Linked DNA regions of Homo sapiens: all the other regions are linked to region 1. Evidence: promoter capture Hi-C in 16 types of primary human blood cells and fetal thymus (Javierre and others, 2016). All regions are on one chromosome and are shown on one strand. The core of a region is centred on a gene start or on the middle of the fragment in contact, and the rest is flanking DNA. Distances in the headings are between cores, read along the strand shown. Region 1 holds the start of SLC22A5 (solute carrier family 22 member 5). Region 2 holds the start of IL4 (interleukin 4). Region 3 holds the start of CCNI2 (cyclin I family member 2). Region 4 holds the start of TH2LCRR (T helper type 2 locus control region associated RNA).

What was found. Contacts are between HindIII fragments. The CHiCAGO score rates a contact against its expected background, and 5 or more counts as called.
Region 2: a contact is called between the fragment with the promoter of IL4 here and the fragment with the promoter of SLC22A5 in region 1, in 10 of 17 cell types (naive CD8 T cells, monocytes, total CD8 T cells and 7 more). The highest score is 7.6, in naive CD8 T cells.
Region 3: a contact is called between the fragment with the promoter of CCNI2 here and the fragment with the promoter of SLC22A5 in region 1, in 8 of 17 cell types (monocytes, naive CD8 T cells, activated CD4 T cells and 5 more). The highest score is 10.9, in monocytes.
Region 4: a contact is called between the fragment with the promoter of TH2LCRR here and the fragment with the promoter of SLC22A5 in region 1, in 2 of 17 cell types (non-activated CD4 T cells and fetal thymus). The highest score is 6.1, in non-activated CD4 T cells.

Annotation. Positions count from the first base shown.
Region 1 is chr5:132,368,091-132,371,241 of GRCh38, forward strand. SLC22A5 (solute carrier family 22 member 5) reads left to right here and starts at 1,620. Exons shown (of 10, transcript NM_003060.4): 1 at 1,620-2,275. The coding sequence starts at 1,883. It overlaps MIR3936HG (MIR3936 host gene), which reads right to left and starts at 1,826. Exons shown (of 8, transcript NR_110997.1): 1 at 1,754-1,826. RefSeq lists a silencer at 1,503-1,822. The HindIII fragment of the contact is 8,292 bases long and covers 390-3,151 here.
Region 2 is chr5:132,672,530-132,675,484 of GRCh38, forward strand. It overlaps IL4 (interleukin 4), which reads left to right and starts at 1,460. Exons shown (of 4, transcript NM_000589.4): 1 at 1,460-1,656; 2 at 1,930-1,977. The coding sequence starts at 1,522. The HindIII fragment of the contact is 7,466 bases long and covers 1-2,183 here.
Region 3 is chr5:132,746,090-132,749,071 of GRCh38, forward strand. CCNI2 (cyclin I family member 2) reads left to right here and starts at 1,337. Exons shown (of 6, transcript NM_001039780.4): 1 at 1,337-1,835; 2 at 2,258-2,386. The coding sequence starts at 1,407. RefSeq lists an enhancer at 820-899 and silencers at 990-1,409, 1,420-1,489, 1,510-1,699. The HindIII fragment of the contact is 9,894 bases long and covers 1-2,867 here.
Region 4 is chr5:132,654,267-132,657,520 of GRCh38, forward strand. It overlaps TH2LCRR (T helper type 2 locus control region associated RNA), which reads right to left and starts at 1,888. Exons shown (of 3, transcript NR_132125.1): 1 at 1,785-1,888. It also overlaps a transcript of IL13 not described here. RefSeq lists silencers at 2,112-2,401, 2,462-2,551, 2,632-2,691. The HindIII fragment of the contact is 15,561 bases long and covers 1-2,547 here.

The sequences.
Region 1 (3,151 bases), core at 370-2,869:
ATTATATTGTAAAAATATACACTTAGTTCTGTTTCTATCACTAAGCCACTACTATTTTAAAAAGGAATATCTTGCATTGTTAAGTTTAGCAGCCCAAATTCTTAAAGGCCTTAGGAATGGTGCTGTCCAATAAGATAACCAATAGCTACATGTGGCTACTGAGCACTTAAAAAATGAGTCTGGCCAGGCATAGTGGCTCACGTCTGTAATTCAGCATTTTGGGAGGCTGAGGTGGGAGGATTGCTTAAACCCAGGAGTCTGAGACCAGCCTGGGCAACACAGGGATGCCTTGTCTCTGTAAAATAAAAAAAATAAAAAAATTAGCTGGGCACGGTGGCATGTGCCTGTAGTCCTAGCTACTCAGCAGGCTGAGGCAGGAGGCCCACTTAAGCTTAGGAGTTCAGGGCTGCGGTGAGCTATGATTGTGCCACTGCACTCTAGCCTGGGTGACACAGTGGGACCGTGTCTCCAATAAATAAATGAATAAATAAATATTAAAAAATAAAAAGTGTGGCTAGTCCAAATTGAAATGTGCTGTAAAATACACACTGGATTCCTTTTTTTTTTTTTTTCAAATCCTGAGAACCTGTGAAACACACTGAATTCTTAAGATTTAGTATGAGGAGGGGAAAAAAAGATCAATGATTTACATATAACAATGTAAAATATCAATAATTTCTATATTGATTATATGATGAAATGATCATGTTCTGGATATACTTGATTAAATATACCATTAAAGTTAATTTCATCTTTTATTTTTACTTTTTAAATATGCAGCATTGCCCAATAAAATACAGGACAACCAGTTACATTTTTATTTTATATATTCCTGCTTGGGACATAATATTTAAAAATTATTCATTCTATATCTGAAATTCAAATTTAACTAGGAGTCCTATATTTTTATTTGCTAAATCTGGCAATTTTATTAATATGGCTACTAGAAAAGTTAACATAACAAATGTAGCTCCTTATCCTATGGAACATTGCTGCTTTAGAATCACCTCGCTGCTTTTTTTTTTTTTCCAGTTAGCTTCTGAATAAACTCTGCACGGAAATAACTAATCTGTGGGGAATATTTAACCCTAGGCTAGGATCGTTAATCGTGAAGTTAAATTTTTACATCTGCATGAACAAAATGGCTTGTTACAGACGAAAATGTGGAAAGGGCATCTGGACTAGAATGAAAAGTCATAGCTCCCAGCCTCTCTACTAGGGTAGTTAACAGTCCCAGGTTCAAAATAATCCCCGTCCCTCTTATAAGATTAGGCGGTGTCAAGAGCAACTATCTGTGAGACCCTGGGCCAGTGACTTTCTCCTTACCTCCGCCCCCAAGTAGGCCTTGCAAAAAGCTGGGAGGGGTGCGTTTTCAACACTGGAGCTTCGCGGCCGCTCTCCCACTCGCTCCCCGCCCGGCGCTAGAGGAGCGAGTTCGGACTCGGACCCCAAGGCCTCGAGTCCCGCTGCCTTCCTAAGCCGAGCCCGGGCTACCTCGGTCGTCCCCAGCAGGCTTGGCTGGCAGAGGCCGGGCCTCGCCAGGTCCCCAGGACAGGCCCCGCCCGGGCCTCAGGTGCACTCCCGGCCCGCCCCGCGCCCTCGCGTCCCGCCCCAGCTCCGCCTTCGCCGGCGCCGCTCTGCCTGCCAGCGGGGCGCGCCTTGCGGCCCAGGCCCGCAACCTTCCCTGGTCGTGCGCCCTATGTAAGGCCAGCCGCGGCAGGACCAAGGCGGCGGTGTCAGCTCGCGAGCCTACCCTCCGCGGACGGTCTTGGGTCGCCTGCTGCCTGGCTTGCCTGGTCGGCGGCGGGTGCCCCGCGCGCACGCGCAAAGCCCGCCGCGTTCCCCGACCCCAGGCCGCGCTCTGTGGGCCTCTGAGGGCGGCATGCGGGACTACGACGAGGTGACCGCCTTCCTGGGCGAGTGGGGGCCCTTCCAGCGCCTCATCTTCTTCCTGCTCAGCGCCAGCATCATCCCCAATGGCTTCACCGGCCTGTCCTCCGTGTTCCTGATAGCGACCCCGGAGCACCGCTGCCGGGTGCCGGACGCCGCGAACCTGAGCAGCGCCTGGCGCAACCACACTGTCCCACTGCGGCTGCGGGACGGCCGCGAGGTGCCCCACAGCTGCCGCCGCTACCGGCTCGCCACCATCGCCAACTTCTCGGCGCTTGGGCTGGAGCCGGGGCGCGACGTGGACCTGGGGCAGCTGGAGCAGGAGAGCTGTCTGGATGGCTGGGAGTTCAGTCAGGACGTCTACCTGTCCACCATTGTGACCGAGGTGGGTGCCGGCCCCTGCTGGGGCTGAGACCAGGGCTCGGAGGACCTGTCGCGGTCCTTGAACCCGAGCTCCTCTCTCCCAGATGCGCACTGGACGCTGTCACTCCCCCTCCCCCAACGGTCAACACCCTAGCGATGGAGACCCTCCAGCCAGGTGGCTTGGGAACGCTTCACGAGGTGACCTCCAGCCACAGTGTGCTCCTCCCTGCACAGGTGGTCAGTCTGGCCTCCCGTCCTGATGGCCACTTTGAAGAGGGTACCAGGAAGGTCCTGGCGGTCCCTGGGCGATGCTCTATGGCCCTGTGTGTCCAGGACTTACTCTAGTTGGGGTTGGGGGTGGTAAGTAGCAGAGCCAGGACTTGGGCCAGGGGCTATCCCGTTTTTCCTCTAGTCTCTTGATTTCTTTTTAGAAGAGAAGAAATACTTCTCTTTCCTGAACTTTTAAAAGTTAAATAAAGCATGTGTATACAACTGCCTCTTCCCTTTTTCCTCTAGTTACTCCTTCCCCTACCGTCCACAACCCAAAAACGACAATCTGGTCATGCCCTGTAAGTAATTGTTTGCCTTTTCCCATGGTCAGTTGTCAGTCTTTTTTTTTTTTGAGACAGAGTCTCCCTCTGTCACCAGGCTGGAGCGCAGTCGTGTGTTCTTGGCTCACTGCAACCTTCGCAGTCGTGCGTTCTTGGCTCACTGCAATCTTCGCCTTCCGGGCTCAAGTGATTCTCCTGCCTCAGTCTCCGAGTAGCTGTGAGCCACGACGCCCAGCTAATTTTTGTGTTTTTAGTAGAGACGGGGTTTCACCGTGTTGGCCAGGATGGTCTCGATCTCTTGACCTCGTGATCTGCCTGCTTCTGCCTCCAAAGCTGGGATTACAACC
Region 2 (2,955 bases), core at 210-2,709, 300 kb after region 1:
CCAGCTACTCGGGGAGGCTGAGGCAGGAGAACGGCATGAACCCAGGAGGCGGAGCTTGCAGTGAACTAAGATCACGCCACTGCACTCCAGCCTGGGTGACAGAGCAAGATTCCATCTCAAAAAAAAAAAAAAAAAAAAGAAATTCATAGGGAAAAGAAGGTCAGAGACCAAGGGAAGGGAAGGTTCTGGGAGAAAAGCAGGGGGCAGGCAGGGCCCAAGAATCCTGCTGCCCATGAGCCCTTACTGGGAGGTGGGGTGGCCTTGCACAGGGCCCAGGCACCTGAGTGAGTGGTGGGGTCCTTACGTTCACTGCTGGGGTGAGGCAATGAGCACCTTATTGTGTCCACATGAATTCAATAAAAAACAAGCAGGGCGGGTGGTGGGGCACTGACTAGGAGGGCTGATTTGTAAGTTGGTAAGACTGTAGCTCTTTTTCCTAATTAGCTGAGGATGTGTTTAGGTTCCATTCAAAAAGTGGGCATTCCTGGCCAGGCATGGTGGCTCACACCTGTAATCTCAGAGCTTTGGGAGACTGAGGTAGGAGGATCACTTGAGCCCAGGAATTTGAGATGAGCCTAGGCAACATAGTGAGACTCTTATCTCTATCAAAAAATAAAAATAAAAATGAGCCAGGCATGGTGCGGTGGCACGCACCTACTGCTAGGGGGGCTGAGGTGGGAGGATCACTTGAGCCTGGGAGGTTGAGGCTGCAGTGATCCCTGATCACAACATTGCATTTCAGCCTGGGTGACAGAGTGAGACCCTGTCTCAGAAAAAAAAAAAAAAAAGTCATTCCTGAAACCTCAGAATAGACCTACCTTGCCAAGGGCTTCCTTATGGGTAAGGACCTTATGGACCTGCTGGGACCCAAACTAGGCCTCACCTGATACGACCTGTCCTTCTCAAAACACCTAAACTTGGGAGAACATTGTCCCCCAGTGCTGGGGTAGGAGAGTCTGCCTGTTATTCTGCCTCTATGCAGAGAAGGAGCCCCAGATCAGCTTTTCCATGACAGGACAGTTTCCAAGATGCCACCTGTACTTGGAAGAAGCCAGGTTAAAATACTTTTCAAGTAAAACTTTCTTGATATTACTCTATCTTTCCCCAGGAGGACTGCATTACAACAAATTCGGACACCTGTGGCCTCTCCCTTCTATGCAAAGCAAAAAGCCAGCAGCAGCCCCAAGCTGATAAGATTAATCTAAAGAGCAAATTATGGTGTAATTTCCTATGCTGAAACTTTGTAGTTAATTTTTTAAAAAGGTTTCATTTTCCTATTGGTCTGATTTCACAGGAACATTTTACCTGTTTGTGAGGCATTTTTTCTCCTGGAAGAGAGGTGCTGATTGGCCCCAAGTGACTGACAATCTGGTGTAACGAAAATTTCCAATGTAAACTCATTTTCCCTCGGTTTCAGCAATTTTAAATCTATATATAGAGATATCTTTGTCAGCATTGCATCGTTAGCTTCTCCTGATAAACTAATTGCCTCACATTGTCACTGCAAATCGACACCTATTAATGGGTCTCACCTCCCAACTGCTTCCCCCTCTGTTCTTCCTGCTAGCATGTGCCGGCAACTTTGTCCACGGACACAAGTGCGATATCACCTTACAGGAGATCATCAAAACTTTGAACAGCCTCACAGAGCAGAAGGTGAGTACCTATCTGGCACCATCTCTCCAGATGTTCTGGTGATGCTCTCAGTATTTCTAGGCATGAAAACGTTAACAGCTGCTAGAGAAGTTGGAACTGGTGGTTGGTGGCAGTCCAGGGCACACAGCGAGGCTTCTCCCCTGCCACTCTTTTTTCTGAGGGTTTGTAGGAAGTTTCCTCAGTTGGAGGGAGTGAGAGCTGCTCATCAAGGACTTCTCTGTCCGGTTGGAGGTTAACTCTGTCTCTTGCTCTCTCATTTCTGCCTGGACCAAGACTCTGTGCACCGAGTTGACCGTAACAGACATCTTTGCTGCCTCCAAGGTAAGAAGCCGTCCCACGGTCTGTTTTAGCAAATGGGGAGATCCATCCCCAAATGTCTGAACAAGAAACTTGTCTAATGGAAAACGAGCGGGCCCAAATTAACTCTAAGGTGTTAGATGTTTTCAAAGAACGAGAAGTCTGATCTTTACTCTTAAGCATGTTTTGGTCTTTCTGGTTTCACTTGATTTAGAAGACATGTAATAGAAAGCTTACATGCTGTAGTCCTGACTCAGATCCTGGTCAAAGAAAAGCCCTCTTGGGTTTTACTTAGCTTTGGCATAGTGCCTGGAACGTAGGAGGCACTCAATAAATGCCTGTTGAATGAGAGAATTTTTCTGGCCCATACATTTCTGAAAAACCAAATACTCTCACAGAAACAGATATTGAGATGACAGGTTGAGGGAGCTTTCATTTTGTCTAAGAGACTTCCTATGGCAACAGAAAAGGTATCGCCAGAGCCCCTCCTCTTCCACAGCCTGGCCACCTAACAGCCCTCTGGGTTCCGGGGCTGGCCGTCCAGAGCTCCTCAGCTTGCTCTGGCCGGCCGAACTCCCCTCCAGCTCGGTCTGGAACCATCCTGCTGGGCAGCGTCCAGCACATCCCTGCTTCGGGCTGCCTGGGCACCTCGCCTCTCTGCCTCCTGTGCTGCCTCACCCCCACCCCTCTATCTGTAGTGGGAGGAGATAGATTTGACAGCTGATAGTGCATTTTCTCTGACAAACACATGACTACAGCCGTATCAATAGTTTTGTGCATTTCAGTTCCTGTTTTCATGGAAACACACGGCTGAGAATGAAAGCCCCAAAGCCTCAATTTCACAGTGGTCTCCTAACTACCTGCTTTCCATGCAAACTAGGGAGATGATATGGCCAGGAGTGAAGCCCTGTGTGTTGGGCAGGGTCACACTCCAGCACCCAGACCATAGAACAGGGCCCATCCTGCTTCATGAGGGAAACTGCTCTTCGGGCCTTTAGCTGG
Region 3 (2,982 bases), core at 87-2,586, 380 kb after region 1:
CAGCCTCACCAGCGTCTGTTGGTTTTTGACTTTTTAATAGTAGCCATTCTGATTGGTGTGAGATGCATTACTCTGATGATTAGTGATGTGGAGCATTTTTTCATGTTTGTTGACCACTTGTATATCTCCCTTTGAGAAGTCTATTCATGTCTTTTTGCCTGTTTTTTGATGGGGTTGTTTTTTGCTTGTTTAATTAAATTCCTTACAGATTCTGGATATTAAGACCTTTGTCGAATGCTTACTTTGCTAATACTTTTCTCCCACTCTATAGGTTGTCTGCTGACTCTGTTGATAGTTTCTTTTGATTTTCTACGGTTTAAATAGGAATGTCTAGGTGTAGTTCTTGGCATTTATCTTGCTTAATGTTCTCAGAGCTTCCTAGAATTGTGGTTTGGTGTTTGGCATTAATTTGGAAATATTCATTCTCAGTCGTTATTGTTTCAAATATTTCTTCTGTTCCTCTCTTTCTTGTCCTTCTGGTATTCCCATATATTTTTAATATACATTTAATGTAATGAATTTTTTAAACAAAATATAACTTAGGAGCCAGGTGTGGTGGTGTGCACCTGTAAGTCTCAGCTACTTGAGAAGCTGAGGTTGAGGGTAGCTTGAGTCCAGGAGTTTGAGGTTGTAGTGTGCTGCGATCACACCTGAGAATAGCCACTGCACTCCAGCTTGGGCAACATAGCAAGATCCACCCCTAAAATTTATGTATGTATGTGTATACATATATATGATTTGTATGATTTTCCTTATTATACGTTTATAGCTATATATGTATGTATAGATACATAAACATATATGTATATGAATGAATCACCTTGTGAGGGAGGTATTATCACTTTTTTTTTCGGAGAAGAGGTAGCCAAGGCTCTGAGAGGTCACGACACATGCATGAGATCACACAGCGCGTCTGGAATTCCATTTCAAGCCTGTCTGAGGAGGGCGCTCTCGCTGCTTCTTTACCTGGTCTTGTGTCCCCAAGTGTGTAATGTGAGGTAAGACCCAGGGTCTGTGTCCGGGAGTCCTGGCCCAAGGCGGGCGCAGTCTCCAGCCGCCCCACCCCTGGCTGGGGGCTCTGCTCAGGGAGCACGGCCGGCAGGGGGGAGGAGGCGTGCGCTAGGCAGCAGCGGGGATGGAGGGAAGGGAGGGGGTCCGCCACCCGCCTGTGCGCGCCCAGTCCTGCCGCATCCTGGGTGCGCGCCGCCCACCCGCGGGGCGAGTGCCCAGGAGGCGAGGCGCGGCCCGGTGCGCCAGAGGTAGCTCCACCGCGAGCGTTGTGGGTGGGGCCCGCCGAGCCCGCCTCCCCACCTCCCCCGGCGGCGCCCCAGGCTGCAGTGTTCCGGGAGCTGGGTTATAAAATGCCGGGTTAAGCGGCAACTCAGACTCAGGATCCCGCTCACGACATGGCCTCGGGCGCTCAGCTCCCGCCGCAGCCGTCGAGCTCAGAGGTCAGCGCCGTCCAGAGCCCAGGCGGGCGTCCCGGCGCCGGTCTGGAGGAAACAGCCCTGGGCGTTCCTCTCCCGCCGTCTCCGGGGGAGGCCCCTCTGCCCCGAAGCAACCGGAGCAGGTGCCCTGGGACCCGCCAGCCCGGAGCGGCCTCCCTCCACGCGGCGTCCGCAGCAGTCCCCGTGCGGCCCCGGCGCGGTACGGCGCCAGCCGGGAAAACCGCAGACGCGGTCCCCGCCGCCGCCCCAGAGCAAGCTCCGCGGCCGGCTCCACAGTCCCGCAAGCCGCGCAACCTGGAAGGCGACCTGGACGAGCGCCGGCTGCTCTGCCACTTGCAGCTGGCCCAGGACCGCGAGGCGCGCCTGTGGCGGGGCGGCAAACCCCAGGTACCCGTCGCTGCCGCGTGGCCCTCCTCGCGCGTGCACGGCAGGCGGATGTGGCCTCCACCTGCACCCGCGCTCGGGTGTTCTGAAACTGGAGGCCGGGCCCTTCCCCAGGTGTGGCCCCTCACGAGAGGCACGAGGCTGGATCCACCAGCTTCTCTCTAGGAGGGCGTCTTGCTAGCAGGGCCTTCGGAAGAGGGCCTGTTTGAATCAAGGAACTCAGCCTACGACGAAAAGTGGGCGCGAGGGGTGGGGGTGATGGGTGAGCCGCTGCGCCGGGGGGCGCTTACTCCCAGCGGGCATGCAGAGGAAGGGACTTCTCACTGCCCCACCCCCCGCACCTTAAGCAGGAGGCTCCTGCTGCTGGGGGACCAGGAGTGGCCGCTAGCGACCTTCCTCGCCCCACCTGCTCTTCTTCCTAGCAGGATGAAATCTGCGACGCCTTCGAGGAAGTCGTGCTGTGGCTCCTGCGGCTTCAGAACACCTTTTACTTCTCCCAGTCCACTTTTAACCTGGCCCTCACCATCTTTGGCCGCCTCCTGATTTCAGTGAAGGTAGGGAGGCCTCTGAGGGACGGTGGCAGATGGTGAGAGAAGAAACTAACCTTTGCTCCCCATTCCTGCTTGAGAGGTGAGGGTTTCCAGATGCTCAAAACCAAGGTGTATAAACTAACTTGCTCCGAGTGGAAGAGCTGGTGTTGGAACCTCTCCACATCCTACACTGGCTGTCTCAGGGTCATGTAGTCATCAGGATTGGACTTGGGGAGCGTGAGAGGACCTAGCTGGGAAAGGGCTTCCTGTGTAATGAGGTAGGATGTGCTTGTCTCGACCTGTCGAGGGCAGCTTGAGGCTAGGATGAGACTGGGTTCCCTGAGAAGGTGCCATATTTCCCACCTCCAGTCAGTCCCGAAATGAAGGAATACTGCCCAGTCATCTGCAGTTCTGAAATCAGGAGCATCTTCGTTGGTCAGATCTAAAAACGGCACTAACATTCTGTCTTGTGGAGAAATTGAGCCTTTTAAAAATGGGAAAAAAAAGCTTATTAAAACAAACGGCTGGGCGCAATGGCTCACGCCTGTAATCCCAGCAATTTGGGAGGCCAAGGGGTGTGGATCACTTGAGGTCAGGAGTTGGAGACCATCCTGGCCAGC
Region 4 (3,254 bases), core at 638-3,137, 290 kb after region 1:
CAGCCTCCCAAGTAGCTGGGATCACAGGTATGCACAACCATGCCTGGCTAAGTTTTTTTTATGTTTTGTAGAAGTAAAGTCTCCCTATGTTTCCCAGGCTGGTGTCAAACTCCTGGGCTCAAGCGATCGGCCCCCCAAAGTGCTGGAATTACAGGGGTGAGCCACCGCGCCCAGTTCAAAACAATTTTTTAAAGAAAACTTGCAGAAAATAAAGATTATGTATGAAAAAGGAAACTTAGAAGATATCAATGAAACAAGAACATAGTGCTGTTAGCGTGCATGTGCACATGCGCACACACACACAAAGAATCAAATACCCTCAGGAAGATAAAGCTATGAGAATATCCCAGAGAAGAGAAATTTTTTAAATGGAAAATAGAATAAAAAGAAAATTAAAGGACAAGTCCAAGAGGTATATAGTCAAAAAAAATGGCAGTTCCAATAAGAGAGAACAAAGAAGAAAAGTCATAAAATGTCCCAATCTAAGTGTGAATACAAAAATATATTATTTTTATAGTAAGTGAGAAAAACAGGGTGCAAAAGGTGTATATGATGCCACTTCACATGTAGGGACAAGGGAAAATAAGACCATATATTCACAGTTGCTTGTATTTACATAAACTAATAGGATACCAAAAAAAAAAAAAAACAACACCTAAGAAAAATAGTTACTTGTGAGGGAAGGTGGAGATTCCACTGAATTTTTTACATACACAGTTGACCCTTGAACAGCAGGTTCTGAACTGCACAGATCCACTTATCCACGGATTCTCTCCTGCCTCTGCCACCCCTGAGATGACAAGACCGACCCCTCCTCTTCTTCCTCCTCGGCCTGCTCAACGTGAAGACAGTGACGCTGAAGACCTTTGTGATGTTCCACCTCCACTTAATGAATAGGAAATATATTTTTTCCTCCTTCCTTGTGATTTTCTTAACAACCTTTTTTTTTTTTTTTTTTTTTTTTTAAGACGGAGTCTCACACTGTCGCCCAGGCTTAAGTGCAGTGGCGCGATTTCGGCTCACTGCAAGCTCCGCCTCCCGGGTTCACGCCATTCTCCTGCCTCAGCCTCCTGGGTAGCTGGGACTACAGGCGCCCACCACCACGCCCGGCTAATTTTTTTGTATTTTTAGTAGAGACGGGGTTTCACCGTGTTAGCCAGGATGGTCTCAATCTCCTGACCTCGTGATCCGCCCATCTCGGCCTCCCAAAGTGCTGGGATTACAGGCGTGAGCCACCGCGCCCGGCCTATAAACAACCTTTAAAAGACAGTAAGGGACACAGCAGGGCAGTAAGTGCCTCACTCACAAGAGGAGCAGCAATGCCAGAGGCCCATAGAGCACGGATTCCCAGCGCTGCCGTTTTACATAATCAGCCTTCTTGATTTTTAAAATTATCTGCATTCGTAACTTTCCTAAAAATAAAAATCTAAAAAATTAAATCCTTTCACTTACAAAAACAACTCTCTCAGGCCTTACTCCTCCTGACTGGGCATCATGTCTTTGCCAACGGAGACCCAGAGTCCAGAGAAACCCGAAAAAGCAACCCCAGCTTTCCCAGGATGAGCTGGTCGGGAGGAAGGGAGGTCCCAATCCCAGCGCTTCGGGGCCAGAGCAAAGCGAAGAGGCTCCCCATGGCCATAAGCGGGCGGCCCACGCAGCGCATTGCAGGCAGGTGCGAGCCACATGCGCCAAGTGCCCGGAGCGGCCCTTTGGTAGTTAGTGTTAATTAAAATTACCCGCACGGGAGTGGATCCCCGCTGACAATCTAGAAACAAGCAACAGACCCTCTGATGTAGCCATCTGTGCCGCGCCTCTCCGCACCGCCCGCCACGCCTTGGTCCCTGGAGACCACCCTCCAGGGCAGGGGCTGCCGCTCGGCCGGGCCCGCGGGGTCCCTCGGCCTGACATGGCCGGTGCTGGAGCGGCACGTGCGCGCCTCGGCCCCTCGGCCGCTCCCGCCCCTCGCCGGTGCGCACCGGCGCTCGGGGAGCCGCTGGCCCGGGTGTCCAGCCGGCCCTTGCCCTGCCTGGCGCTCGGACCGCCACCTTTGCCGCCCCCTCGCCAGCCTCCGCAGCTTCCAGACTGGCCGGTCTGCGCGCCCACCCCTGCCTCCCGGACCGGCCACCGCCGGAGGCCGCGGAGGAGGGCCCGGCCGCGCAGATCCCGCTTATCGGGCCCATCTCCCGTTACATAAGGCCACCCCCCTATCTCCGCGGGCCATCGCCGCCGCAACCGCCGCGCCAGCGCCTTCTCCCACGCGCGGGGGCGCCCCTGCCCACCGCTCCCGGCAGGGCTTTTGGTGGCCATGGGGGATAAGGGGCGTTGACTCACCCGGGCGGGGCTCCGGGAGTTGCACAGACCAAGGTAGTTCCCCGCTCCTTCCCCCATCACGGAGACCCTGTGGGAGATGCCGTGGGCCCTCTACTACAGATTAGGAAACAGGCCCGTAGAGGGGTCACACGGCCAAGTAGCGGCACTCCAGGCACTGGGGGCCCTCGAGGGGAAGGGGCAGACTTCTGGGAGTCAGAGCCAGCAGCTGGGCTGGGAAGCTTCGAGTGTGGACAGAGAGGGTGGGAATGACGTTCCCTGTGGGAAGAGAGGGTGGGCAAGCCTGGGATGCCTCTGAGCGGGAATCCAGCATGCCTTGTGAGGAGGGTCACAAGCACACCCTTGTGAGGAGGTTGAGCCCCATCGAGGACAGGACGGAGGGAGCCTGAGCAGGCAGAGAGGGGGCCTGGGGAGGCGCTGGTTCGGGGAGGAAGTGGGTAGGGGAGAAATCTTGACATCAACACCCAACAGGCAAATGCCGTGGCCTCTGCTGTGGGGGTTTCTGGAGGACTTCTAGGAAAACGAGGGAAGAGCAGGAAAAGGCGACATGGCTGCAGGGGCCAAGCCCAGGAGCCGCCCTCCACAGCACTCATTCTGCAGAAGGGAAATTTGAGGCCCCCAGACGGCAGGGGTTGATCCTGCAGAGACTGGTGAGCAAAGGGGATCACCCCAAGCCCCAGTGGCACTAGGAACACTTACAATCTCTGACCTGGACTAAGGCTGCCAGCCTGGCCCAGTTAAGAGTTTCCCAGAAGGATGGCCCATACACTTTAAATTAAAGGGGCCAGACACGTGCACACTACTTCCAGCCACTCTGGAAGCTGAGGTGGGGGGATCGCTTGAGTCTGGGAGTTGGAGGCCAGCCTAGGCAGGCAACATAGTGAGACCCCATCTCCAAAAAAACAAAACAAAACAAAACAAAAAAA